Linked DNA regions of Homo sapiens: all the other regions are linked to region 2. The links are contacts of gene promoters, found by promoter capture Hi-C in human tissues and cell types (Jung and others, 2019). All regions are on one chromosome and are shown on one strand. The core of a region is centred on a gene start or on the middle of the fragment in contact, and the rest is flanking DNA. Distances in the headings are between cores, read along the strand shown. Region 1 overlaps ANKRD11 (ankyrin repeat domain containing 11). Region 2 holds the start of RPL13 (ribosomal protein L13). Region 3 overlaps ANKRD11 (ankyrin repeat domain containing 11). Region 4 overlaps ZNF276 (zinc finger protein 276). Region 5 overlaps FANCA (FA complementation group A). Region 6 overlaps FANCA (FA complementation group A). Region 7 holds the start of LOC128462377.

Evidence for each region. Contacts are between HindIII fragments. The study calls those that stand out against the background at their distance.
Region 1: a fragment that was not itself captured here is called in contact with the fragment with the promoter of RPL13 in region 2 in 8 of the 25 tissues and cell types used here (IMR-90 fibroblasts, bladder, dorsolateral prefrontal cortex and 5 more).
Region 3: a fragment that was not itself captured here is called in contact with the fragment with the promoter of RPL13 in region 2 in 4 of the 25 tissues and cell types used here (H1 embryonic stem cells, dorsolateral prefrontal cortex, heart right ventricle and 1 more).
Region 4: a fragment that was not itself captured here is called in contact with the fragment with the promoter of RPL13 in region 2 in 2 of the 25 tissues and cell types used here (heart right atrium and lymphoblastoid cells).
Region 5: a contact is called between a fragment that was not itself captured here and the fragment with the promoter of RPL13 in region 2, in 2 of the 25 tissues and cell types used here (heart left ventricle and pancreas).
Region 6: a contact is called between a fragment that was not itself captured here and the fragment with the promoter of RPL13 in region 2, in 3 of the 25 tissues and cell types used here (H1 embryonic stem cells, IMR-90 fibroblasts and ovary).
Region 7: a contact is called between a fragment that was not itself captured here and the fragment with the promoter of RPL13 in region 2, in 4 of the 25 tissues and cell types used here (aorta, hippocampus, liver and 1 more).

What each region holds. Positions count from the first base shown.
Region 1 is chr16:89,350,315-89,354,432 of GRCh38, reverse strand. All of the region lies in intron 2 of ANKRD11 (ankyrin repeat domain containing 11), which reads left to right. All of the region lies in intron 1 of LOC128462377, which reads left to right. Among named protein-coding and RNA genes, the nearest start is that of ZNF778, 130 kb to the right of the region's middle. The HindIII fragment of the contact is 8,829 bases long and covers 1-4,118 here.
Region 2 is chr16:89,558,203-89,561,931 of GRCh38, reverse strand. It overlaps RPL13 (ribosomal protein L13), which reads right to left and starts at 1,250. Exons shown (of 6, transcript NM_000977.4): 1 at 1,220-1,250; 2 at 869-992; 3 at 564-705; 4 at 181-354. The coding sequence starts at 972. It overlaps SNORD68 (small nucleolar RNA, C/D box 68), which reads right to left and starts at 502; the gene lies at 431-502. RefSeq lists silencers at 668-717, 778-1,047, 2,589-2,808 and an enhancer at 1,158-1,267. The HindIII fragment of the contact is 11,945 bases long and covers 1-3,729 here.
Region 3 is chr16:89,376,838-89,380,724 of GRCh38, reverse strand. All of the region lies in intron 2 of ANKRD11 (ankyrin repeat domain containing 11), which reads left to right. The region is part of intron 1 of LOC128462377; the gene reads left to right. Among named protein-coding and RNA genes, the nearest start is that of ANKRD11, 110 kb to the left of the region's middle. The HindIII fragment of the contact is 8,223 bases long and covers 1-3,887 here.
Region 4 is chr16:89,733,963-89,737,716 of GRCh38, reverse strand. ZNF276 (zinc finger protein 276) reads right to left here. Exons shown (of 11, transcript NM_001113525.2): 9 at 3,679-3,754. FANCA (FA complementation group A) reads left to right here. Exons shown (of 43, transcript NM_000135.4): 43 at 1-168. Among named protein-coding and RNA genes, the nearest start is that of ZNF276, 14 kb to the right of the region's middle. The HindIII fragment of the contact is 4,696 bases long and covers 126-3,754 here.
Region 5 is chr16:89,751,034-89,755,147 of GRCh38, reverse strand. It overlaps FANCA (FA complementation group A), which reads left to right. Exons shown (of 43, transcript NM_000135.4): 31 at 2,926-3,010. Among named protein-coding and RNA genes, the nearest start is that of ZNF276, 32 kb to the right of the region's middle. The HindIII fragment of the contact is 5,421 bases long and covers 1-3,960 here.
Region 6 is chr16:89,796,236-89,799,100 of GRCh38, reverse strand. The region is part of intron 10 of FANCA (FA complementation group A); the gene reads left to right. Among named protein-coding and RNA genes, the nearest start is that of FANCA, 19 kb to the left of the region's middle. The HindIII fragment of the contact is 7,196 bases long and covers 1-2,865 here.
Region 7 is chr16:89,415,894-89,419,787 of GRCh38, reverse strand. It overlaps ANKRD11 (ankyrin repeat domain containing 11), which reads left to right. Exons shown (of 13, transcript NM_013275.6): 2 at 1,420-1,504. It overlaps LOC128462377, which reads left to right and starts at 1,496. Exons shown (of 2, transcript NM_001416403.1): 1 at 1,496-1,504. The coding sequence starts at 1,496. RefSeq lists an enhancer at 1-215. The HindIII fragment of the contact is 5,031 bases long and covers 1-3,894 here.

The DNA of each region.
Region 1 (4,118 bases), core at 941-3,440, 210 kb after region 2:
ATAGTGGACCTCACTGCTGCAGTGTTGACTGTGTCAAGCACTTTTTATATTTGGGTATTTGTCTAATGTTAGTAAAATCATTTTTGAGACTTCAAAAAAGATTGACAGTGAGAAGGAAAAGGAGGCTTTTCAAATTCTAGGGTGAGATACAGTGTTTCAACATGAAGTTTTCTTTTTTTTTTTTTTTTTGGCTGAATGCAAAATTTAGTTATATATATGTAAAATTTGTGAAAATGCGTGCCTTGGAAGATTTGAATGGGTAAAGGTATACTTTCCTCCATCTGTGCAGTGCATTATTTAGAAGCAGTGGAGTGACCTTGCAGGCGGCACCTGAGGGAGTGCCAGGCATGGGACTGTTGGGCGGGCAGCTCCCGAGAGCCCTGCAGGGCTGGGTGCTCTGGCTCCCATCAATTATTTACAGACTTGGGGCATTCAGCTGGGCTGGTTCACAAGGCTGGAAGCCAGCTCCGCCTTTATGTCTCCATCTCTGCCCGCCGCCCCTCACCCTGTGGCAGACATGCCCCACGCTCCCTGCATGAGAGGCTGCAGAGGCTGCTCTGTCTTGTTTCGGGTGTCTCAGGGCTGATGTGTGTTGTGTTCCCATAGTGGCTGTTGATCATGAAAAACATTATGTTCCATAAGATATGTGACCAGTTCGGGCGTAGTGGCTCACGCCTGTAATCCCAGCACTTTGGGAGGCCCAGGCAGGCGGATCAGCTGAGGTCAGGAGTTCGAAACCAGCCTGGCCAACATGATGAAACCCTGTCTCTACTAAAAATACAAAGAAATTAGGCAAGCGTGGTTGTGCATGCCTGTAATCCCAGCTACTAGGGAGGCTGAGGCAGGAGAATTGCTTGAACCCGGAAGGCGGAGGTTGCAGTGAGCCGAGATTGCACCACTGTACTCCAGCCTGGGTGACACAGTAAGACTCTGTCTCAAAAAAATGAAAAAGTGACCAGTTCCTTGTAGTTGCCTTGGACTGGTGTTCCTCTTACTGCTGGTATTTCCAGCTCTACTTTTGAGATCCTCTGGAGAAATAAATAGAAACTTTGTTTACTTTCTCTCTCTCTCTCTCTCTCTCTTTTTTTTTGGAGTTGGAGTCTCACTCTGTCACCCAGGCTGGAGTGCAGTGGCGCCATCTTGGCTCACTGCAACCTCCGCCTCCTGAGTTGAAGCAATTCTCCTGCCTCAGCCTCCTGAGTAGCTGGGATTATAGGCGTCTGCCACCATGCACGGCTAATTTTTGTATTTTTAGTAGAGACGGGGTTTCACCATATTGGCCAGGCTGGTCTTGAACTCCTGACCTCATGATCCACCTGCCTTGGCCTCCCAAAGTGCTGGGATTAATTACAGGCGTGAGCCACCGCGCCCAGCCCTACTTTCTCTTGTTATAATTTTAACTCAGTGTTAGGGTGAAGTAAATGGATCCTGTAAAGTTAATATATTCAAGGTTTAATGTTTTCCATAAACTTTTCTGAAGTATGTTTGTTTTAAAATAATTTTGTTGTAGTGACCCCCTTTGCTTAAACATGCCGTGAAGTAGAACAAGCCGTGAGAGAAAAGAGGGAAAGGACAAGATGCTGACAAAGCAGGTAGGGGCCCTGCTTGGGGGCCCATGTGGTCATCTTGAAGGAGGGCAGCAGCACATAGGAAACGCACTCAAGAATCTGCCTGGCTGAGCACACACATTTTCAGAGGCAAGCGGGACTCACCCAGCTGAGGCTTCAATAAACTGGTGAATTGGGTGGAGAAGGGCCAGGCACAGAACACTTTGGTGCTGATGAGTGGAGCGGACAGAGCTTTTACCCTTCAAAGATCTACCACAGTGTGTGTGAGATCTGGATGGGCCAGGGCGAGAGGAAGTGGCCCTGACAGGGGCCTCACTCTTGGGGGCAGGGCTCGCTCACTGTGTTGAGCTTGCCAGAAGCTCTGAAGGGTGTGAGCCTTGAAGATCTGCCCTGACATTCCTCTGTGCCCAGCATCAGCAAGTGCCCTCCTGCCACTGACCTGAGAGCAGGAGGGCGTCACTGTGGCCTTCTGCTTGGTTTTCTTGGGGGGCTGCCTTGAGACATTGCGGTGCCTAGACCCCTGGCTTCTTGACTTGCCTTCCCCCAGGGCTCTGCACCGCGTGGCGTGATGCATACCTGGCCACTGTGAGATCCAGTCCTTAGGACAAGTCTTGTCTCGTGTCCAGCATTCCATCCCTAGGGAAACGTGTCTCATGCTTTTCAAAGAAGATAATCGGCCAGGTGCAATGGCTCACGCCTGTGATCCCAGCATTTGGGAGGCTGAGGCAGGCGGATCACTTGAGGTCAGGAGTTTGAGACCAATCTGACCAACATGTTGAAACCCCCGCCTCTACACAAATTACCTGGGCCTGGTGGCTTGTGCCTGTCATTTCAGCGGAGGCGTGAGAATTGCTTGAACCTGGGAGGCAGAGATTGCAGTGAGCCACGATCGCACCACTGCACTCCATCCTGGGCGACAGAGTGAGACTGTCTCCAAAAAAGAGATAATACCAGCTTGATTGAGAGGATTGACAGACCGTAGGCTTACCCAGATAAAGCGCACAGTTCAAAGGTTGTTAGTGTATTCACGGGTCTGTTCAACCACCAGGACTGTCAGTTCTAGAACATTGCTGTCACCTCAGAAAGAAACTTGGACCTTTAATCGTCACTCCTTGTTCCCCCTGCAGCCTCTGCGTCCTCTCTGAGTCTGCTGTTCTGGTCATTTTGTGTCCATGGAATTGCATGCTGTGTGGCATGACACGAACCTGCGCCCAGGTCACAGGGCCTATGTCTGCAGTGCCCACAGCAGCATTGCCTCAATGCCAAACACAGAGAGAAGCTTCGTCTCCATGCCTTAACTTACAGACCTGCCCGAGAGTCTGTATCCAGTGTTTTCTTGAAAAAGTTCGCTAGGATCCTCTTTGAATACGTATATTTATGAAATGAGAATCAGTTATTTGGTGTAGTGGGTAATGAATGCCTGGAGTGATTTGCGGAGGTAGTGGAGGGTGTGTGGTGAAGTCAGCCACCTGCTCAGTATCAAGGACAGCCTCATCCTGCTCCTGTTGGGATCTGGTCTTCCTTCCCTAGGGCCATGGATGCCATCCCCTTCAGGAATGTATTCTGCTTTTCCAGATGTGTTTGGCGGCCTGTGGGCGTGGGGTGATGGGCATTCAATTTCATTCTTTGCCGTGGAACCCCTCGCCCATGCCCACCACCAGCTGCCGCCGCCGCCTCTCTGCTTTTCTTCACAACAGTGCTCTTGACGAGCTCTTGTGCCCGCCATCGTCCACTCCCGTGCATTCTCTCTGAGAGCTTCTTTGAGGTACAGTTTAAATACTTTGGAATGCATCAATTTTAATAGCGGTCGGGGGATGCATCCTGAGAAATGCGTTGTTAGGTGATCTTGTCCTCTGAGCATCACAGAGTGTGCGTACCCAGATCCAGAAGGCAGAGCCTCCCACACACCTAAGCTACATGGTAGAGCCTGTTGCTGAGTCACCCTGCTGAATCGTGGAAAGAAATCGTAACACAGTGGTAGGTGTTTATGCCATGGGACCCGTTCCACTCCATTAGCATCTTATGGTAGCACATACCACCATCATGAATGTGGCCTGTTGACCACACTCAACATGAGCATCATGTTGCTCATGACTACAGATGTGAGAGTTTTAAGGAATCAGTTGGAACTGTCTTGTTCCCACCATCACAGTCATGATACAGAGTAGTATTTCCATCACCCCAAGAAAGTTCCCCCTTTCCTCTTTGCAGCAGCATGTCATCCTATTTCCTGGACCCAGGATGCTGATGTGCTTTCGGTCACTGTAGCTTTTGCTTTACTAGAATTTAATATGAATGGAATCATTGAGTGTGGACTCTTGTGTCTGGTGTGTTTCATCTTCCTTTTGAGATTGATCTGGGTTCTGTGGTGTATGTCAGTAGTTTACTGAGTAGCTTTTTAGGGGGTAGATATGTCGCATGTTCATCCAATAAGCAGTTATAGACATGTCCGTTGTTTCCTAGTTTTAGCTGTTGGGAGTCAAGCTGATATGAGTAGTTGCATGCAAAGCATCAGATGGCTGGATGTGGTACCTTTTCTGGGTCTGGGTT
Region 2 (3,729 bases), core at 1-2,500:
GTCCATTAAGGTTATCTCTGCGGAAACGCACAGGTGAACCTTAGCAGTCCCGCTTAGCTCATCACCCACAATGTTTTGGTTCTTCTCACCCCAGCAAGACCCAGGGACCGGTGTCACTGATAAAGGAGCCAAGCCTCACTGTCCCCGCGCACCAGGACGGCCAGAGAGCCGTGTACTCACAGAACTGTCTCCCTTCTTGGGGGCCGAGGGCTTCCTGGGGAAGAGGATGAGTTTGGAGCGGTACTCCTTCAGCCGCTGCACGTTGGCCTGCAGGGACTCCGTGGACTTGTTCCGCCTCCTCGGATCCACAGAAATGCCGATGGTCCGGGCCACCTTCTTGTGAATGCCGGCCACCTGCCCCAGAACCAGAGAGAGATGGAGACAGGCCCGGGCTTTCTCCAGCCCCGAGGCCTGGATGAAAAGCCTCAGCAATCAGATGGAAAAGGGTTCAAATGTGCTTTCATCAAGGCCGTACAGCGATTCCGGAGAATGTCATCACGCGACTGAGGCCAACAGAGGGGACTTCGGGGCCTTCCTGACACCGCAGCGCTGCCAGTACTCACCCTGAGCTCCTCCAGGCTGAAGCCGCGGCCGGCGCGCACCTTCGTGTGGTACCGAACCGTGGGGCAGCGCACGATGGGCCGGATGGGACCCGACGCGGGGCGCGGGGCGATGCGGCGCGCCTTGGCTTGCCGGGCCTTACGTCTGGTGGAGAGAAGCGCAGCGGCGGTCACCCTTGCCTAAGGCCGCCAGGCCAGCGCTCCGCGACGGTTGCAGACAGCGCCCCCCGCCCTGGCATCGGCCACCCGCAAGCCAAGGCGCAGCCGCGGGCACGAGCCCCAGGGGCAGCCCCGAGCGCAGGGCTCACCTGCGGATCTTACGGGCCGGCTGGTTGAACCACGTGGCCACGCGCCGCTGCCAGTCCTTGTGGAAGTGGGGCTTCAAGACCATGCCATTCCGGCTGGGCGCCATGGCTGCCTACGGCCCTGCGGCTGCGGACGAGAGGGGAGCGAGTGAGAGGCCGGACCCCGGGCGCGCGCACCCCCCCGGGCCTCCGCCCCGAACCCTCCAGACTGGGCCGTCCGGCCGCGCCTAGAGCCCGGGCAGCGGCCGAACGCTGTCTGCGAAGAAGAAGGGGCCCATCCACTCCCGCGTTGGCTGAAGCGCCAGGCCGATGGCGCTGGATGATGCCCAAAGGCCAGGACCCAGTCTCCCTCACCTCCTGCGCAGGAAAACAGCCGAGCGGAAAGGAAGCGGCCCCGCAATGCACTCTGGGATGATAGCAGGGCCGGCCAACCAGAAGCGCCGGGCGCTCTGACCAATCAGAGCCCCGAAAGGAGGAACTGACGTCGCCGCGGCTCTCCCGGCAGCCCTAGGGCCGCCGTCGCAGACATGTTGCCGCTGAGAATGCGGCGGGGCGGCCGTGATTCCTGGGCCCTGAGTAACCGACGGCCGGACTTGCTTGACGTCCGCCGTTACTGCCCCGGCGCTTCAGCCGCTGCGCGGGCCGCGGCCGAGTCCTGTCTTGCGGGCTAACGCGCGCGAGTCCGGTATCTGGGCCGACGGCGAACGGGCGACGCCCGAGGAATTCTGTTTGTTCACATTTGTGAGACACGTTTGCAGCGCAAAGGCAGAAAAACTTCAGTGACATCCGAGTTTGCGCAACCTAAGGCCTTCGTCCTTGTCGTTCCAGCGTTTATTCTCCTCCCATCCATTTAGAACATTTGTGGTTTTTTTTTTTGTTTTTTTTTTTTGGAGACGGAGTCTCGCTCCGTCGCCCAGGCTGGAGTGCAATGGCGCGATCTCGGCTCACTGCAGCCTCCGCGTCCCAGGTTCAAGCAATTCTGCCTCAGCCTCCCGAGTAGCTGGGATTACAGGCGCCCGCCGCCACACCCTGCTAATTTTTGGTATTTTAGTAGACGGAGTTACTGTTGGCCTCTGTCGCTTTCCCTTGGCCCAGGATTAGGTGACTTCTCTAAGGTCAGGGGTACCCGACTGAAAATGTCACACTCTGACCTGCTGTGCCTACTGCCTTCCTTCACAAAGAAAAGCATCAACAAAAAGCCATCTCTTCTCTAGTATAAGTCTGTGAAGGCACCATCCATCTTACTGCTACCTGGAAACCTTTAAATCCCAATAACCCTCTTTCTTCCCTACCCTCACCCAATCACCACGCTTCCTCCTGGTAAAACTTATTATTATTTTTTTTTTTTGAGACGGAGTCTCCCTCTGTTGCCCAGGCTGGAGTTCAGTGGTGCGATCTCTGTTCACTGCAAGTTCTGCCTCCCGGGTTCACGCCATTCTCCTGCCTCTGCCTCCCAAGTAGCTGGGACTACAGGCGCCCACCATCACGCCCAGCTGATTTTTTGTATTTTTAGTACAGACGGGGTTTCACTGTGTTAGCCAGGATGGTCTCGATCTCCTGACCTCGCGATCCGCCCGCCTGGGCCTCCCAAAGTGCTGGGATTACAGGCGTGAGCCACCGTGCCTGGCCAACGTAATCCACATTTTAAGAATTTCACAGTTCCAGCACTTTGGGAGGCTGAGGTGGGCGGATCAGCCGAGGTCAAGAGTTTGAGATCACCCTGGCTAAGATGGTGAAACCCTGTCTCTACTAAAAATACAAAAAAGCTGGGCGTGGTGGCGCATGCCTGTAATCCTAGCTACTTAGGAGGCTGAGTCACCAGAATTGCTTGAACTGGGGAGGCAGAGGTTGCAGTGAGCCAAGATCACATTACTGCACTCTAGCCTGGGCAACAGAGCAAGACTCAGTCTCAAAAAGAAAAAAAAGTATTTCACAGGCCAGGCACGGTGGCTCATGCCTGTAAATCCCAGCACTTTGGGAGGCCGAGGCGGGTGGATCACCTGAGGTCAGGAGTTGGAGACCGGCCTAGCCAACATGGCAAAATCCCGCCTCTACTAAAAATACAAAAATTAGCCATGTGTGGTTGTGTACACCTGTAATCCTAGCTACTCCAGAGAGTAGGACAGGGGAATCACTTGAACCCAGGAGGCAGAGGTTACAGTGAGTCGAGACTGCACCACTGCACTCCAGCCTGGGTGACAGAGTTAAGCCTCCGTCTCAAAAATGAAAAATTTAAGAGCTGGGCGTGCTGGCTCACACCTGTAATCCCAGCATTTTGGGAGCCCAAGGCAGGCAGATCACGAGGTCAGGAGATCGAGACCATCCTGGCTAACATGGTGAAACCCCGACTCTACTAAAAATACAAAAAATTAGCCGGGCGTGGTGGCAGGCGCCTGTGGTCCCACCTACTTGGGAGGCTGAGGCAGGAGAATGGCGTGAACCCGGGAGGCGGAGGTTGCACTGACCCAAGATCGTGCCACTGCACTCCAGCCTGGACTACAGAGCAAGATTCCATCTCCAAAAACAAATAATAATTAAAAAATAATAAATTAATTTCACAAAAGGCTTGGCACAGTGGCTCACACCTGTAATCCCAACACATTGGGAGGCCAAGGCAGGAGGATCACTTGAACTCAGAAATTCGAGTCTAGCCCTGTCTCTACAAAAAGTACAAAAATTAGTCGGGCATAATGGTGCGTGCCTGCGGTCCCAGCTACTTGGGAGGCTGAGTCAGGAGGATTGCTTGAGCCCAGAAGATCGAGGCTGCAGTGAGCCGAGATGGCGCCACTGCACTCTAGCCTGGGCGACAGAGCAAGACTCTGCCAAAAACCAACACAACAGCAAAAAAAAAACAATTACCGAGG
Region 3 (3,887 bases), core at 440-2,939, 180 kb after region 2:
TCTCTTCCCTGGAAAGCAGGCAGGTACTCGTCAGGCTTTCCTTCATTTATTTCTAGAGTTTCTGCAGATCTAGAAGCCTGTCTCCTATTGGTTATTGTCTTTTAACAAAGACCTGTTTGGCATTACACAAAAAATGCTTTCACAAGTCCCAAGGCAGCGGGCAGGTCCTGGGGCTGCTCTTCGTGCCCTGTGTCCCGTTTCTTATGCAGGTGGAGACTGCTGGTCGTTCTCTGGAGTAGCCCCAAGGAAGCTATCTGAAGGCTCAGGGAGCTCTAATCCACTTAGGAGAAAAGGAGTTAAAATGGCATCATTGGGCTGGGCACAGTGGCTCACACCTGTAATCCCAGCACTTTGGGAGGCCGAGGTGGGTGGATCACCTGAGGTCAGGAGTTTGAGACCAGCTTGGCCAACATGGAGAAACCCCATCTCTACTAAAAATACAGAATTAGCCAGGCGTCGTGGCACATGCCTGTAATACCAACTACTCGGGGGGCAGAGACAGGAGAATTGCTTGAACCTGTGAAGTGGGTGTTGAAGTGAGCCGAGATCACGCCATCGCTCTCCAGCCTGGGTGACAGAATGAGACTCTGTCTCAAAAAGAAAAAAACAGGCATCATTGTTTTGCAACTGGGGTACCAGAAATAACATCTTTCCATAGTGAATTTCTGGTGGCAGAGGAGCTTCATATATACCCATTGATACTTGGACCTGGACTGAAGCTTGAGGGGTTTGGAGATGCAGAAAATAGTGTTTGGTAAATAGAGATGAAAGTGTGTGTTTTGAGAAATGATGATTGGAAAACTGAAAAGGTCAGTGTCTGCAGCCATGTATTTCTTTCTAAATTTTTTATTTTTCTGCATTTTCAAAAATTATATTTTTTGGGAAATTATTATGTATACTCTTCTTGCTGAACAGAATGTTAAAAATACAGCTGACATCTTCTTTGCCCGTTGTACTCAGTCCAAGTTCTTTGTGAATCACAAGAACCAACACGTTCTTCGCAAATCCGTGCACTGCACGGAGCTCTTCCGTGCTGCTTGGGGCGCTCGCGTCCCAGTCACCTGGAGGTGGGAGGCAGAGAGCAGTGGTGGAGCAGAAAACTGTAAGCTCAAGTTGGAGCCAGGAGGCTGAGGCAGAAGTGTCACTTGAGCCCAGGAGGTTGAGGCTGCAGTGAGCCGTGACTGAGCTCTGTCTGGGCGACAGAGCAAGACTTTGTCTCTTTAAAAAAATGTTCAAGTTGGACTCCTGGAAAGCAGAGTTACATGAGCTGGTTTTGGATGCCCTGACAGGGTGTGGAGCAGGAGGCCCCTGTGGGCCTGTTCCCCATGGTCAGCTTTCGACATATAATGAAAGCCCCGTTCACTGGTAACACTTGATTTGAGCCATTTAAAATTATTTTATAAAATTGTTGTTCCACTTAGGAACTGGCACAAGGTCTTTGTGAGAAAGCCCTAAGTTTTCAAGATAGGATTAAAAAAGCATGAGCCTGTGACGCACATACAGACGGTGTGCACCCCTTCTAGCCCGCCGGCTGCCAGCAGCTCCCAGAATGGCCGTGTGCCGGGGCAGGCATGGGGGCCGGCCCCACCTTCTAGAAGCCAGTGAGAAAGGCCTTCCTGGGGCTGGTCCGCACTGCCGACGTTCTGGGCATGGACGACCCTAAGTTTTCAGTTCTAAGCGACAGTGAATGCCTCAGCCCGGCTTGTCTACGACTGCAGGAGGCGTCTTGACGCTCCCCAGTGTGCCGTCAGAACCTTGACCCAAAAAGGTCTTCAGCCTTGGAAAGCCCTTCCCACCTCGCCCCACCCACCAACCCCTGAAGAGGTTTTCAGCCTTGGAAAGCCCTTCCCCACCTCGCCCCACCCATCAACCCCTTAAAACATGGATAAAAGAGTTTTAAACCACAGCGCCTGAAGTTTGAGACCAGCCTGGCCAACATGATGAAACCCCGTCTCTACTAAAATACACAGACAAAAAATTAGCCAGGCATGGTGGCACACACCTGTAATCCCAGCTACTCGGGAGGCTGAGACAGGAGAATTGCTTGAACCCAGGAGGCAGAAATCTTTGTGTACACCAGTGTCTTCAAACAAGAGAAGCTACTTGAGCACTTGCTAGTCATGCTGGCCAGTTGTGTGTTCTCAGCCAGACTATTTCCAGCCTGCTGTATCTGTAGCCTTATAGCACGTACATTTAGCTTAATATCTTTAAAGCTCTACGTTTTTGCTATTTTCTGAGGAGGTTTTTGTGGTTAGGCTTCAATGCCATGATTTGAAATTATTATCAAGAATTACAAATCAATATTGACCTAATCAATATGGTTGACATACACGTTGATGAAATCATTATATATGTTTGGTCCTTGAACAACTTGGGGATTAGTGGCACTGACCCCTGGTACAGTCAAGTCCACATATAACCTTTTATACCCCGAGTATTTAATTTTGTTGACCAGTGCCTTCCTGATCACATAAACAGTCAACACATTTTAATCCAACACTGACATATACAAAGCACTTTTTTTCCCGCTTCTTAAAGAGACAGAGTCTCGCTTGCCATGTTGCCCAGGCTGGTCTCAAACTGCTGGGCTCAAGTGATCCTTCCGCCTCGGCCTCCCAGTGCACTGGGATTATAAGTGTGAGCCACCATGCCCCTCATATTTTATATGTCGTATGTATTGTATACTGTATTCTTACAGTAAAGTAAGCTAGAGAAAAGAAGGTGTTGTTAAGAAAATCATAAGGAAGAGAAAATATGTTTACTTCTCATTAAGTGGAAGTGGGTCATCATGAAGGTCTTCATCCTCATCATTTCATTGAGTAGAAGGAGGAGGGGTGGTCATGCTGTTCTCATGGGGCGGGGGTGGAAGAGGTAGAAGGGGAGGCAGGAGAGGCAGGCGCATTTGGTGTAACTTACGAAGTGCTTTGTCATTTCTCTAGAAATGTTCCTGTATGGTCACAGTCCTCCCTCACTGTTGGCTTTAGTTTCAGTGCCCATGTCACAGACAGGTGTGTGTTGTACAAGAAGTTAAAAGCGGGTGGGAGTCGTGGGAACCCCTCCCCTCTGCAGGAGTGTCTGATGTCACTTTGTTTTCTGTCACTGCTGCTACCTCCTCCTCGTCACCTGGTGTGGGTCAGAAGCACTCATCACCACCAGGTTGTCTTCTAATTTCTCTGGTGTGGTATCTCTTAGCTCTTGAGTTTTGAAATGAAACCCTTCATCCCTCCCCGCCCCCCAGCCCTCCTGCCCCGGCCCACATGTCCGCAGTCTCTTCATGATCTCCTTGATTGGCTGTTGTAAACCCTGTGGAATCACACACAACCTCCAGACATAGTTTTCTCCAGCAGGAGTTCATTGTTTTGGGTTTGACAGCTTTCATGGCTTTCTCTATAACAATGATGGCATCTTTCATGGTGTCATCTTCCAGACACTCATGATGCTCTCTCTCTCTCTCTCCCATGTTGACAGTCCTTTCCATAGCATGCTGTGTGTAATGAGCCTTACAGGTCCTATGACCCCGATCTAGAGGCTGAATTAGATACGCTGTGTTTGGGGACAGGAAGACCACGTTGACGCCTCTGCTGTTGAACTCACGGGGTTCTGGGGGACCAAGGGCATTGTTCATTGTCAAAAGAACATTTAAGGCAGTTCCTTACTGGCAAGGCAAGGTACTTCCTGACTTCACGGACAAAGCATCAATGGAAGCAGTCCGGAAAAAGGGGTTCTTTCCAGCCTTGTTGCAAAACCAAATACCTGGCAGCTGGTGTTTATCTTTTCCCTTCAAGGTTCTGAGGTAGGCAGCTTTATAGATAAAGGCAGTCCTTATCATAAACCCTACTGCATTTGCACAAAACAGTAGCATTAGCTTATCCCTTCTTGCCTTCTAT
Region 4 (3,754 bases), core at 1,224-3,723, 170 kb before region 2:
GAAGACATTTCTGCACATGGTTCACCATGCAGTGGGCCCAAGCAAGGGGCCTATGAGGGCCTCGTTTATTAAGATCTTTAAACTGCTTTATACACTGTCACGTGGCTTCATCAGCTGTGTGCATTTCAGGATGGTTTTTAAAGAAACCTCAGAAAGCTATTTCCTTAACCACAGATTCTTGTCTTTTTTTTTTTTTGAGATGGAGTTTCGCTCTGTTACCCAGGCTGCAGTGCGGTGGCGTGATCTCAGCTCACTGCAACCTGCGCCTCCCAGGCTCAAGCGATTCTTGTGCCTCAGCCTGCCAAGTAGCTGGGATTACAGGCGCCCCCCACCACGCCCAGCTGATTTTTGTATTTTTAGTAGAGACAGGGTTTACACCATATTGGCCAGGCTGGTCTTGAATTCCTGACCTTGTGATCTGCCTGCCTCGGTCTCCCAAAGTGCTGGGATTACATGTGTGAGCCACCGTGCCTGGCCTACAAATTCTTAAAGGAAGCCGTATCACTAAGGTTGTATAGAATACTGATTGTCACAGCTATGGCTGTTCTCTAGAATTCATCTCCATATGAGAGGGGTCCATACCCAGGGTCTGGGGGTATGCATTGCTGTACTGGCTCTGGAAATCTTTCTCACACCCTTGAACAAAGAGATCTCACTTGCTAGTCCACAAATGCCACATGTGGACATGCAGACCCACTCACCCTGTGCTGCCTCCACATCTGTCAAGCCCTGAAACGCTTCACAAGACAGACTTTTCTCTTCGAAGGGAAACCCTATCTTGGCATTTTACTCTACGCTGTTCTTTTTTTTTGAGACTTGAGTCTTGCTCTGTTGCCCAGGCTGGAGTGCAACAGCCCAATCTCAGCTCACTGGAAACTCCACCTCCCAGGTTCAAGGGATTCTTTTTTTTTTTTTTTTTTTGGAGACAGGGTCTTGCTCTGTTGCCCAGGTTGAAGTGCAATGGTACAATCATGGCTCACTATAGCCTGGAACTCCCAGGCTTAAGTGATCCTCCTGCCTCAACCTCTCAAGTAGCTGGGACCACAGGTGTGCACCACCACACCCAGGTAATTTAAAAAATTTGGGGGGCCGGTGCAGTGGCTTACACAAAGTGCTCAATCCCAGCACTTTGGAAGGCCAAGGCAGGCGGATCATGAAGTCAGTTCAAGACCAGCCCCAGCCCAATCAATATGGTAAAACCCTGTCTCTACTAAAAATACAAAAATTAGCCAGGTGTGGTGGCACACACCTGTAGTCCCAGCTACTCGGGAGGCTGAGGCAGCAGAATTGCATGAACCCAGGAGGTGGAGGTTGCAGTGAGCTGAGATTGCACAGCTGCACTCCAGGCTGGGCGACACAGACTGTCCCGGAAAAAAAAAAAAAAATTGGGGGCTGGGCACGGTGGCTCATGCCTGTAATCCCAGCACTTTGGGAGGCCAAGGCAGGCAAATCACCTGAGGTCAGGAACTCGAGACCAGCCTGGCCAACATAGCAAAACCTGCCTCTCTACTAAAAATAGAAAAATTACCCAGGCGTCATGGCTCACGCTTATAATCCCAGCACTTCGGGAGGCCGAGGCAGGTGGATCACAAGGTCAGGAGATTGAGACCAGCCTCACTAACGTGGTGAAACCCCGTCTGTACTGAAAATACGAAAAATTAGTTGGGTGTGGTGGCCAGCACCTGTAGTCCCAGCTATTTGGGAGGCTGAGGCAGGAGAATGGCTTTACCCCAGGAAGAGGAGCTTGCAGTGAGCTGAGATTGTGCCACTGCACCCCAGCCTGGGCGACAAGAGCAAGACTCAGTCAAAAAAACAAACAAACAAACAAAAAAAAACACCCCCGGCGTGGTGGCAGATGCCTGTAATCCCAGCTACTCAGGAGGCTGAGACAGGAGAATTGCTTGAACTAGGGAGGTGGAGGTTACAGTGAGCCAAGATCGCGCCACTGCACTCCAGCCATGGTGATAAGAGTGAGACTGTTTCCATCAATAAATTAAAAAAAAAGTTTTTGGTAAAGACGGCCTCACTATGTTGCCCAGGCTGGTGTCAAAATCCTGGCCTCAAGCAATCCTACTGCCTTAGCCTCCAAAGTGCTGCGATTACAGGCATGAGCCACTGCACCCGGCCCAATTTCAGGTTTTTAAGGAACTGCTGGTTGTGACCATCAGTGACCGGACAGATGCAGAGTCTGAAGGACCAAACCCAAGGAAGTGCTGCCATCAGGAGAGATGTCGGAGAACCCAAAAAATAACAACCCGCATGTCGGGAGATGACCCAGCAGTGAAAAGCAATCCTAATGAAAAAATACTTCAGTAAATTCAAGTAAGAATAAATAATTCTTATTCTGTAATAAGTTCAAAACCAAGGAAAACTGTGTGTGTAAGGATCAATATACAGTTGTCCTCAGCTGGTTCCAGGCCCCCCCCCACCCCTTACCAAAATCTGCTCATACTGAAGTCCCGAAGTTAGCCCTGCAAAGACCCTACAGAACCTGCACTTAGGAAAAGGCAGCCCTCTGAATACCAGGGATTCGAGTCCCTGACCATGGATATGTGGGTCCACGTGGTTCAAACAAGTTTTTTTTTTGAGACAGTGTCTCACTGTTGCCCAGGCTGGAGTGCAGTGGTGTGATCTCGGCTCACTGCAACCTCCACCTCCGCCTCCCAAGTAGCTGTGCCTACAGGCGTGTGCCACCACACCCAGATAATTTTTGTATTTTTAGTAGAGACCAGGTTTTACCATGTTGGCCAGGCTGGTCTTGAACTGCTGACCTCAGGTGATCCACCCACCTCAGCCTCCCAAAGTGCTGGGATTACAGGTGTGAGCCACCACGCCCGGCCAAGTTTGTCATTTTGAAAACATATCCTTGTTGGATTATAAAAGTAACTTGTGCATTATAGAAATTGTGAAAAATAAGACGGGCACAGAGACAGCACCCTCAGTCATAATTCCCCCATCCGCCTCCGGTCTTAATGACACGACCTACACACATGTGAAAAGGCAGAACCACACGTGCCTCCCGCCTGTCCACGTGGGCAGCTCCCCAGAGCTGGTGTGCCTTCATGCCTTCTGCCTTGCCTTTTAAGATACACTTGTTTGGGCCAGGTGCAGTGCTCACACCTGTAATCTCTGCACTTTGGAAGGCTGAGATCACTTGAGGTCAGGAGTTAGAGATCACCCTGGCCAACATGGTGAAACCCCGTCTCTACCAAAAATTACAAAAATTAGCCAGGCATGGTTGCGGGTGCCTGTAATCCCAGCTACTTGGGAGGCTGAGGCGGGAGAATTGATTGAACCTGGGAGGCAGAGGTTGTGGTGAGCCAAGATGGTGCCACTGCACTCCAGCCTGGGCAACAGAGCAGGACTCCGTCTCAAAAAAAAATTAAAAAATAAAATGACCAATTTGCAAAAGGACACCAAGATTGCTTGGCTATTAGTTTTGACAAACTGCCTAGATCCTGGGGAAGTCAGGAATTCCTTCCATCACAGGGAAGGGCAGATTCACACTGACGCCCTACTCTAGCCTTCATCTACCAACGTGACTGAGTACCAAAGACCCCATGAGCCACCTTCACGCACCCCCAACTCTTGGGGCGGGGATGGGTATGAGGAAGACTGGAAAGCAGGTCACGTGCCCCTGGCTGTCACCCGCGTGGGCGACACTGGCGATAGGCGTACCTGTGTGGATGAGCTTCACGTGGCGCTGCAGGTAGCGGTCGATCATGAAAACCTTGTTGCAGCCAGGGTGGGGGCA
Region 5 (4,114 bases), core at 1-2,500, 190 kb before region 2:
TGTTGAAAACACTTCTTTCCCCACTGAATGGTCTTGGCACCCTTGTCAAAAGTTAGATGGCTGCTCGTGTGAGGGTTTGTTTCTGGCTCTCATTGTGTTCCCTTGGTCTGTATGTCCATATGCACTGCGTCATTGGGATGAAGCTTTGTAGTAGGTTTTAAAATTGGGAAGTGTGAGGCCTCCAACTTGGTTCTTCTTTTTCAGGATGGTTTGGCTTTTCTAGGTGCTTTGTAGTTGTGTCTTAATTTTGGGATGAGCTTGTCAGTTTCGACAAAAGTAGCTGGGACCCTGATACGGACTGCATGTGGGGCAGTATTGCCATCTCAGTGATAGCGAGTCTTCTTTCCTTTTGAATCATTTGTTGCTAACGTATAGAAACACCAGTGATTCTTGTATATTCATTGGCTCTAGTCATTTATTAGTTCTAAGAGTGTTTTTGTATCGATTCCTTAGGGCTTTGTATATATAAGATCGTGTCTGGCCAGGCATGGTGGCTCATGCCTGTAATCCCAGCACTTTGGGAGGGTGAAGTGGGCGGATCATGAGGTCAGGAGTTGGAGACCAGCCTGGCCAACATGGTGAAACCCCATCTCTACTAAAAATACAAAAATTAGCCGGGCATCGTGGTGGGCTCCTGTAATCCGTTACTTGGGAGGCTGAGGCAGAAGAATCACTTGAACTCAGGAGGCAGAGGTTGCAGTGAGTTGAGATCATGCCACTGCAACTCCAGCCTGGGCGACAAGAGTGAAACTCAGTCTCAAAACAAAAAAACAAAAGAAAGATCATATAATATGTGAAGAGAGATAGTTTCACTTTTTCCTTTCCTATCTGGATGCTTTTTCTTTTTCTTGTTGAATTGCCCCGGCTTGAACTCCCCGGGCAGTGTTGTTTTTTTTGTTGTTGTTTTGTTTTGTTTTTTTTTTTCTGAGACGGAGTCTCGCTCTGTCACCCAGGCTGGAGTGCAGTGGTGCAATCTCGGCTTACCGAAACCTTCGCCTCTCAGGTTCAAGCGATTCTCCTGCCTCAGCCTCCCGAGTAGCTGGGATTACAGGCACCCGCCACCATGCCCAGCTAATTTTTGTTTGTTTGTTTTTGAGACAGAGTGTCGCTGTGTGTCCCAGGCTGGAGTACAGTGGCACTATCTCAGCTGTCTGCAACCTCCGCCTTCCAGGTTCAGGCAATTCTGCTGCCTCAGCCTCCCAATAGGTGGGATTACTGGCGTCCGCTAACACGCCCGTCTAATTTTTGTATTTTTAGTAGAGATAGGGTTTCGCCACATTGGCCAGGATGGTCTCGATCTCCTGACCTCAGATGATCTGCCTGCCTCGGCCTCCCAAAGTGCTGGGATTACAGGCGTGAGCCACCGTGTCTGTCCCCAGTGCAGTGTTGAGTAGAGGCAGCGACACTGTTCTGAGTGTAGAGAGGACATCCTTGTTGCCCCTGATCTTAGGAGAACAGCTTTCAGTCTTTCCTCATTAAATCTGACGTTTGCTGTGGGTTTTCATCCATGCCAGGCACTAGATTGAGAAGATTTCCTTTGTTCCTGGTTGATTGAGTGTTTTTATCACAAAAGGATGTCACATTTCGTCAAGTGCTTTTTCTACATCTATTGAGATAATCTTACGGTTTTTGCTTTTTATTTTATTGATAACTGCGTTATATTGGTTTGGGGATCTTAAGCTATCCTTGTGTAGGGACCAGCCCCGGAGGGTCGGTGGGTCTCTCCCTGTGTGCGGCGATGAGAGAGTGTAGAAATAAAGACACAAGACAGAGATAAGAGAAAAGGCAGCTGGGCCCGGGGGACCACTACCACCAATGCGCGGAGACCGGTAGTGGCCCCGAGTGTCGGGCTGCGCTGTTACTTATTGGATACAAGGCAGAAGGGGCAGGGTAAACAATGTGAGTCACCTCCAATGATAGGTAAGGTCACGTGGGTCACATGTCCACTGGACAGGGGGCCCGTCCCTGCCTGGCAGCTGAGGCAGAGAGGGAGAGGAGACAGAGAGAAAGACAGCTTACGCCATTATTTCTGCATATCAGGGACTATTAGTATTTTCACTAATTTGCTACTGCTATCTGGAAGGCAGAGCCAGGTGTACAGGATGGAACATGAAGGTGGACTAGGAGCATGACCACTGAAGCACAGCATCACAGGGAGACGGTGAGGCCTCCGGATAACTGCGGGCGAGTCTGACTGATGTCAGGCCCTCCACAAGAGGTGGAGGAGCAGAGTCTTCTCTAAACTCCCCGGGGGAAAGGGAGACTCCCTTTCCCGGTCTGCTAAGTAGTGGGTGTTGTTCCTTGACACCTTTTGCTACCGCTGGACCACGATCCGCTTGGTGACGGGCGTCTTCCCAGACGCTGGCATCACCGCTAGACCAAGGAGCCCTCTGGTGGCCCTGTCCGGGCACAACAGAAGGCTCGCACTCTTGTCTTCTGGTCACACCTCAGTATATCCCCTCAGCTCCTATCTCTGTATGGCCTGGTTTTTCCTAGGCTATGATTATTGAGTGAGGATTATCATAATATTGGAATAAAAAGTAATTGCTACCAACTAATGATTAATGATATTCATATGTAATCATATCTAAGATCTATATCTGGTATAACTATTCTTGTTTTATATTTTATTATACTGGAACAGCTCGTGTCCTCTGTCTCTTGCCTTGGTGCCTGGGTGGCTTGCCACCCACATCCTTGCATTCTTGGGATAAGCCTCCTTGGTCATGGTACATAATTTTTGTATTTCCTAGGTTGGGGTTGGTAGTATTTTGTGGCAGTTTTTGTTGTTTATTGTTGACTAATGTGAGGGTCACACTGTCAGAGAAGCACAGCCATCACTCAGCTCCGGAGGCAGGAGGAGAACTGGGAACTTCAGCACTATTAGGCGATACTGAGGAGGATTTTATTGTATTTTCATTTCAGCTCAAGGAGTTATGACCACTCAGAAAATTCTGATTTGGTCTTTGGTGGCCGCACAGGAAATGAGGATATTATTTCCAGATTGCAGGTGAGTTTGAGGGTGCCACAACTCAGTGCATTCACTTCATTTAAGCCGCGTGCTATTAAGATATTTATTGCCAGGCGCGGTGGCTCACGCCTGTAATCCCAGAACTTTGGGAGGCCGAGGCAGGCGGATCACACAGTCAGGAGATCGAGACCATGCTGGCTAACACGATGAGACCCCGTCTCTACTAAAAATACAAAAATTTAGCCGGGCGTGGTGGCGGGCACCTGTAGCCCCACCTACTCGGGAGGCTGAGGCAGGAGAATGGCATGAACCCAGGAGGCGGAGCTTGCAGTGAGCCGAGATTGTGCCACTGCACTCCAGCCTGGGCGGGCGACAGAGTGAGACTCCGTCTCAAAAAAAAAAAAAAGATATTTATTGTTGGCTCAGGCTTGTAATCCCAGTACTTTGGGAGTCCGAGGCTGGTGGATCACCTGAAGTCTATACAGGTAGGCAGCATGTACCTGTGTGGGTTCACTGTCAGTCAACAGGCATTTACTGGTGCTGGCCACCCGTGCGTCTTCTGTGCCAGGCCCCTGTCTCTCCCTCCGCCAGCTCTGGGGCCTCCCAACTCCTTAGCCAGATGCTTTCCCTAGACCCACCTGGCTCCTTCTCAGTGAGACCATCTGCTTTTTCCTCTTAATTGTAATCATAATTATTATTATTATTGGGACAGGGTCTTGCTCTGTCACCCAGGCTAGAGTACAGTGGTGCGATCATATCTCTCTGCAGCCTTGACTTCCTGGGCTCAAGCAATCCTGACAGCGTGCACCTGTGTGCGCCACCACACCCAGCTGATTTTTTGTAGAGACGGAGTTTTGCCATGTTGCCCAGGCTTGTCTCGAACTCCTGGGCCCAAGTGAACCACCCATCTCGGTCTCCAAAATTGTTGGATTACAGGCGTGAGCCACTGCACCTGATCTTTATTCTTCTTTAAAAAATACAGCCGGCCAGGCACGGTGGCTTATGCCTGTAATCCCAGCACTTTGGGAGGCTGAGGTGGCTAGATCACTTGAGGTCAGGGGCTCAAGACCAGTTTGGCCAACATGGTGAAACCCCATCTCTACTAAAAATACAAAACACTAGTCAAGCATGGTGGTGTGTACC
Region 6 (2,865 bases), core at 1-2,500, 240 kb before region 2:
AGATATTTTAAACACTTCCAGAGCTTCAGCAGCCCGCTCCTGAGCACACTTCCTCTGCCAGTTACGATAACGTGCGTGAGGAGGAGGCGACCATGGGAAAGCCCGGGGAACGCTCTGGTCAGCCTTTTCCTGTGAGGATGAGGTCGGAAGGTGCGCCCACTGCAGTATCCTGTTCCGCCTCTGGAAGTCCTGCACCAATGTTTGTCCCACTCACTGTGACCTCCTCCTGTGTGGAGTCTCCCCTTGCTCCTCCTTCCCTGGGTGTGATTCAGGCTCTAGAGCTGGCCCTGCCTCTCAGCCCCCCACATTTCTAGAACACACTGTAGCTGTGCCTCTACAGACTCCCGCTGCCTGGCCTCCACAGATCCTGCTCAGATTCACCAGTAGGCAAAGCTTGGCCCTATTAGCTTTTTCTCTCCATGGCTCTGTGGAGATGTGCGGAGACCCTTACAGGTCGGGAGGCGGAAGCTGAGGAGTGGGGGCTGGGTGGAAGGTGGACATCGGGGTTTGGTGGAAATGGGGCTCTGGGGTTTGCTTCCCTCTAGTGTGGGCAGGGGACCTTGAAGTGAAGTCTTGAGAAACCAGTAGAATTTGCCACTGTTTCCAGGCCTTGTCAACCTTTTCATTCTTTATTTTGCTCCTCATTTCCCATCCCTCACAGTAACTGTTTAACTGCTCAATTAAATGTGTTGTACCGTTCGGTACTTTTACTGAAACAGTGAATAAAGCACTGTGTGATTTCCTGAATGTTTACATGTGCATCAGTTAGCTTGGGCTGCTGTAACAAAGTGCCAGAGACTGCGGTGTGGACGGCAGATGTGTTCTCACAGCAGTGGAGGCTGGAAGTTGGAGGTCAGGGTGCCCCTAGGGTTGGGTTCTGGTGAGGACCCTCTTCCTGGCTTGCAGGAGACCTACTTTTTCTGTGTCTTCATGAGGTAGAGAGGGGAGAGCAAGCCCTCTGGTGTCTTCTCCGGGCAGTCATCTCATCATCACCTCAGCCTTATCAACACCCCACCTTGAGAGGCTGGGCTTCAACAGAGGAACTTTGTGGGGATACAGTTTAGTCTGTGGCAAGGGCTTTTTTTTATAATCTGTGTGATAAGATTACTCACACTGATGTCCTGAGAGTCAGGTAACAACCACTGACCTGCCGATTTTTATATTTTGTAATTAGTTGCCAATTATTTATTTATTTATTTATTTTTGAGACAGAGTTTTATTCTTGTTGCCCAGGCTGGAGTGCAGTGGTGAGATCTCTGCTCACTGCAACCTCTGCCTCCCAGGTTCAATCAATTCTTCTGCCTCAGCCTCCTGAGTAGCTGGGATTACAGGCATGCACCACCACACCTGGCACAAGCCTATAGTTTTGTATTTTCTATTTTTAAGTAGACATGGGGTTTCACTATATTGGTCAGGCTGGTCTCGAACTCCTGACCTCAAGTGATAACACCCACCTCAGCCTCCCAAAGTACTGGGATTACAGGCGTGAGCCACCGCACCTGGCCTGCCAATAATTTAAAATCAGACATCCTCCAACAGTCTTGGTGGCCAGCTTCCCTTGCACACTGGGGGCTGTGGTGTCCCAAAGCCCTGCCCTGTGAGGAAGGACAGCAGGGCTGAGAAGTGAATCTCCACGATGTCCCACACCCTGTTGTGTGAGTGTCTTGAGTTTGCACAGAGCCGACGTGGCCTCGTTGGGTGTGTGACCCTGGGGCAGTTCACTGAACCGCCAGGACCCTTGATTTTCTTTCTTTCTTTCTTTATTTTTTTGAGACAGAGTCTCACTGTGTCGCCCAGGCTGGAGTGCAGTGGCACGATCTCGGTTTACTACAACCTATGCCTCCTGGGTTCAAGCGATTCTCCTGCCTCAGCCTCCCACATAGCTGGGACTATAGGTGTGTGCCACCATGCCTGGCTAATTTTTTTTATTTTTCTTTTTTTGAGACAGAATTTCGCTCTGTCGCCCATGCTGGAGTGCAGTGGTGCGATCTCTGCTCACTGCAAGCTCCGCTCCCTGGGTTCACACCATTCTCCTGCCTCAGTCTCCCGAGTAGCTGGAACTACAGGTGCCCACCACCATGCCCGGCTAATTTTTTCTATTTTTTTAGTAGAGATGGGGTTTCGTTGGGTTGGCCGGGATGGTCTCGAGCTCCTGACCTTGTCATCTGCCCCCCTTGGCCTCCCAAAGTGCTGGGATTACAGGTGTGAGCCAATGCGCCTGGCCTAATATTTTGGTATTTTTAGTGTAGATGGGGTTTCACCATGTTAGCCAGGGTAGTCTTGATCTCCTGACCTTGTGATCTGCCCGCCTCAGCCTCCCAGAGTGCTGGGATTACAGGCATGAGCCACCGTGCCCGGCTGGACCCTTGATTTTCTTACCTGGGGAATCGGCATAAAGTGCCGCTTGCTGGTTGCAGGTTGTAAGCCTCACGAGAGGGTCTGGGTTTGGTTTGGTGGTCTGTATAGGCCTGCTGGGATGTGGCAGGCTAACAGACCTCAAGTGCTCTTGCCACCTGGCTCTGTGACCCCATTCACCCCCAGAACATCGTGTTCTCTCACACAGATGGCCCAGGAAACCTTAGTCCCTTCCATTCCTTCCTCATCTTCATGGACAGAGCTGGCCTCAGTCCCTGTTGTGACTGTTTGAGGCCCTGGTGTGCTGGGCTCTTCTCTCAGGCTTGGCACGACCCTCTGGGGGAGTTCCGTGTCACAGAGGGTGCCGCTGAGGCCCCGTCGGGTTGGCTCCCGGGGCTCCACTCCCGGGTGCGGCGCGGCCTGCCCTTCCCAACCTGTTTCCTTCTGCTCCACTCCCGGGTGTGGCGCGGCCTGCCCTTCCCCACCTGTTTCCTTCTGCTCCTTCGCTTC
Region 7 (3,894 bases), core at 527-3,026, 140 kb after region 2:
GGAAAAACCTCACTCCATCTTTGCAAAACGCATGTGCCAGGAGTGTTGCTCAGGAAACACGCGATTCTCTCGGATGCTAAGTGCAGAGCCGGGGAACCCTGCACCAGCAAGCCCTGTCCTGGGAGCTGCCTTCAATCCTGTCTGTGCTTCCTTCCCTGGTTCTGCACACGGAAGTGTTTGGAGTTGGAGGAGAGCCTGATGTTTGGATGGGACTGAAGTAACATGGGTATAGATTTTTTTTCCCCCATTTAGACTGGTTTGTTTTATTCTTGGAGTCCCCAGAGCTCTTCAGGGAAATTATATAGTTTTATTCAGCTGCCTTTTTTTTTTTTTTTTAAGACGAGTTTCGCTCTGTCACCCAGGCTGGAGTGCAGTGGTGCAGTCTCAGCTCACTGCAACCTTTGCCTCGCAGATTCAAGTGATTCACCTGCCCCAGCCTCCCAAGTAGTTGGGGTTACAGGTACAAGCCACCACACCTGGTTAATTTTTTGTATTTTCAGTAGAGACGGGGTTTTGCCCTGTTGGCCAGGCTGGTCTTGAACTCATGACCTCAAGTGATCCGCCCACCTCGGCCTCCCAAAGTGCTGGGATTACAGGCGTGAGCCACCATGCATGGCTTTATTCAGCTTTTTAAAAAAATGGTACTGCAGTATAATCTTTTCCTCTTAAAATACTCAGTGGAAATGAAAACCACCTTATCTTTTTTTGCACCTTTTATGTAGTTTAAAACTTAATATGCTTCTTAAAGTTAAAATTAGCCTTTTAAGGCTGGGCATGGTGGCTGACGCCTGTAATCCTAACACTTTGGAAGGCCGAGGTGATTGGAACACCTGAGGTCAGGAGGTCCAGATCAGCCGGGGGTGGGTGGCGAGCGCCTGTAATCCCATCTACTCGGGAGGCTGAGGTAGGAGAATCGCTTGAACCCAGGAGGGGAGGTGGAGGTTGCAGTGAGCTGAGATCACGCCACTGCACTCCAGCCTGGGGGACAAGAGTGAAACTCTGTCTCCAAAAAAAAAAAAAAGGCCTTTTAAAAACTTAGCTTACTGGTAATGTTTTGTTTCTGTGGCGAGATTGCCCACTTGGGTTATTTGGTTTCTTACGTATAAAAAGCCCCAGAGCCTCTAAAATCTGGTTTTATGGTGATTTCACAAGATTGTATCAGTGTCATCTACTCTTTTTTGTGCTGGACTTTGGATTTACCTTTAAGTTGTTGCAATTGCTGCATTGTGACGTAAAGGTATTTGATGAATGAAGTTAAGTTTTGGCCTTGGCACAGTGACCAGGAGCTGAGCAGTGGGTCATGGGAGAGGAAGGGCGATGGAATAAACCGTGTGGACCAAATGGAGGGAGACGAGAGCGATGAAAGAACTGAGGCTGAAATTATTATTGACATGAGCTAATCTCACTCTCTTGTTTCAGAATATATACAGCCCTGCTCTGGGACACACCTCCATTGGATTTAAAAGACAGTCCTCGTCAGCACTGACTTTCAGCTATGGAATCGGTAAATACTCACTGCATTCTCTATCAATTTATGTTTTTGTCATTGATTTGTAAAAATAAGTATCAAAATAATGCGTGAGTGTCCAGGTTGGTTTTCTTGGACTTGATAGAGTTTTGTCGAAATGTTGTGAATTTTGTTCTGGATTTCACTTAGAGTGTATTCAGAGTGGTAACAGGTAAGCATTTTTGGATTAATGAATGGGATCCTTGGTGTCACAGTGAGAAGAAATCTGCTGAAAAATTAAATAGGTTGTTAATAGCCTATAAAAGAAGTTTATTTCCTCTTGTCCTCCTTTAATTTTCTTCATCCTCAGATGGTCTGGTGATGACTGAGACCCCCACCCTGTGCTGTGTGTTGTGTGCTCTGAGCATGTTGTGTTAACAGTTTGCGTGAGGATTCTGTATCCTGGGAGCTGTTCTGCTCGTTAGGATCCTGGTGGTCTTGCCTGGTTGTCCTTGGATGAGGATTCTGTATCCTGGGAGCTGTTCTGCTCGTTAGGATCCTGGTGGTCTTGCTGGGTTGTCCTTGGATGAGGATTCTGTATCCTGGGAGCTGTTGTGCTCTTGTTAGGTTCCTGGTGGTCTCGCCGGGCTGTCCTGTGCTTCTGGGCATAGTGCTGTTGCTGAACCCTCTAGATGGCTATTCTGGCTTTTCCTAGGAGCTGGAGACCAGTGTGTATGGTTGGCAGGTAAGGAGTGGGAGCCTGGTTCGCCAGCCCTGACTCCTTGCCTCCTCCTGGGAGTCACTGGCATGTTTTTTGAGAGGAGCGGCAGCAGTCTCCAAAAAGACTTTGGCCTTGGCTCTGAGCAAGCACGTGTCGCTGTAGGGCAGAGTCCTCCCTCCTTCCAGAGACGCATGGTGAACTGGCAGGTTATTTTCTCTGATATGTGGATTGACAGCAGTTGAAGAGAAAACTTGGCTAAATTAAATTTTCATATTTTGGCCAGGTGTGAGTCATGGTTTTAAAGTGAACATTCCAAAAATACATAATCTGTTTTGTGTTGTTACTCCCAGCAAACGTGAAAGAACCTTTCCTGCAGCTTCTTTCGGGAGCTTCATAGTTTGGTGTATCTGTTCCTTATCTCAGTCGCCTGGAGTCAGGCCACTTTAAAATACACCTGACTGCTTTCTTTCATATGACTGAATTCTTTCCTTGGAAATAGAGGTGAGGTTTGAAGGAAAGGGAATCTGAGATATCCTTGAAAATAGGTCTAGAATTGTCTTCTCTTAATCTGTGGGATGGTTTGTAGTTAGAATGAAGCCAGCCTGGGTAGTGGGCATGTTTGTGATCAGGTGAGACATTTTTCAAGATCTGGAGGTGGACTGAGCCTGGTTGTGATAAAAGGGGTGCCATGGAGGGGCCAGGTACATGGGAAAAGGGGGGCAGCGATGAGGGAGCACCCCACACCCCAGGGTCTGAGCTGTGCCTCTTTGTGAAAAGGATACTGCTGACCTTAATGTATGACAAGGAAAAGCAAAATGCTGCATTTTCTTTTTTTAATTTTTTTTTTTTTTTTGTAGAAACAGAGTCTTGTTACGTTGTCCAGGCCTGTCTTGAACCCCTGCTCTCAAGCAATCCTCCTGCCTCAGCCTCCCAAAGTGCTGGGATTACAGGTGTGAGCCACCACACCTGGCCAAAATGCTGCTTACTAGTGTGAAAAATAAAATTATTAATCAGCAATTAGTGGCCAGGCACAGTGGCTCACGCCTGTAATCCCAGCACTTTGAGATGTCAAGGTGGGTGGATCACTTGAGGCCAGGAGTTCCAGACCAGCCTGCCAACATGGTGAAACCCCATCTCTATTAAAAATGTAAATATTAACCGGACGTGGTGGCGAATGCCTGTGATCCCAGCTAGTTGGGAGGCTGAGGCAGGAGCGTTGCTTGAACTGGGAGGCGGAGGTTTCAGTGAGCCAAGATCACAACACCGCACTTGAGCCTGGGCGACAGAGCAAGACTCTGTCTCTGGGGAAAAAAAAAAATCGATGGATTCAAAATACAGGCTTCTCTGATTAAAGGGGAGCAAGCTATCAGCAACTCTGCTGACAGGACCTGGAATTGGCCTAAATGTCTAGCACTCTAGTGGATTGAGAACAATAGATGTACTGATACTTAGGTTTGATGACATAGGAAATGTTGGCATTTTTGACCATGCCACAGTAATAATCTAAGGTGTTTAATGCCATTTGTCACTTTTGTGAACTATAGATCCTCAGTATTGATTTTGTCTTTTGTTTGCCTGTGGTGGTTAGATTGAATACGAGGAAGGCCCTTAGCATGAGGTCTGTTGTGGCCTCCCATCAGGGAGACTGCAGTGTTGCTACAGAGAGGCCCTGCTGAGCAGAGGTTGGGCGCAGTGTGACCAGAGGCGCCGTGACCCACATGGGCAT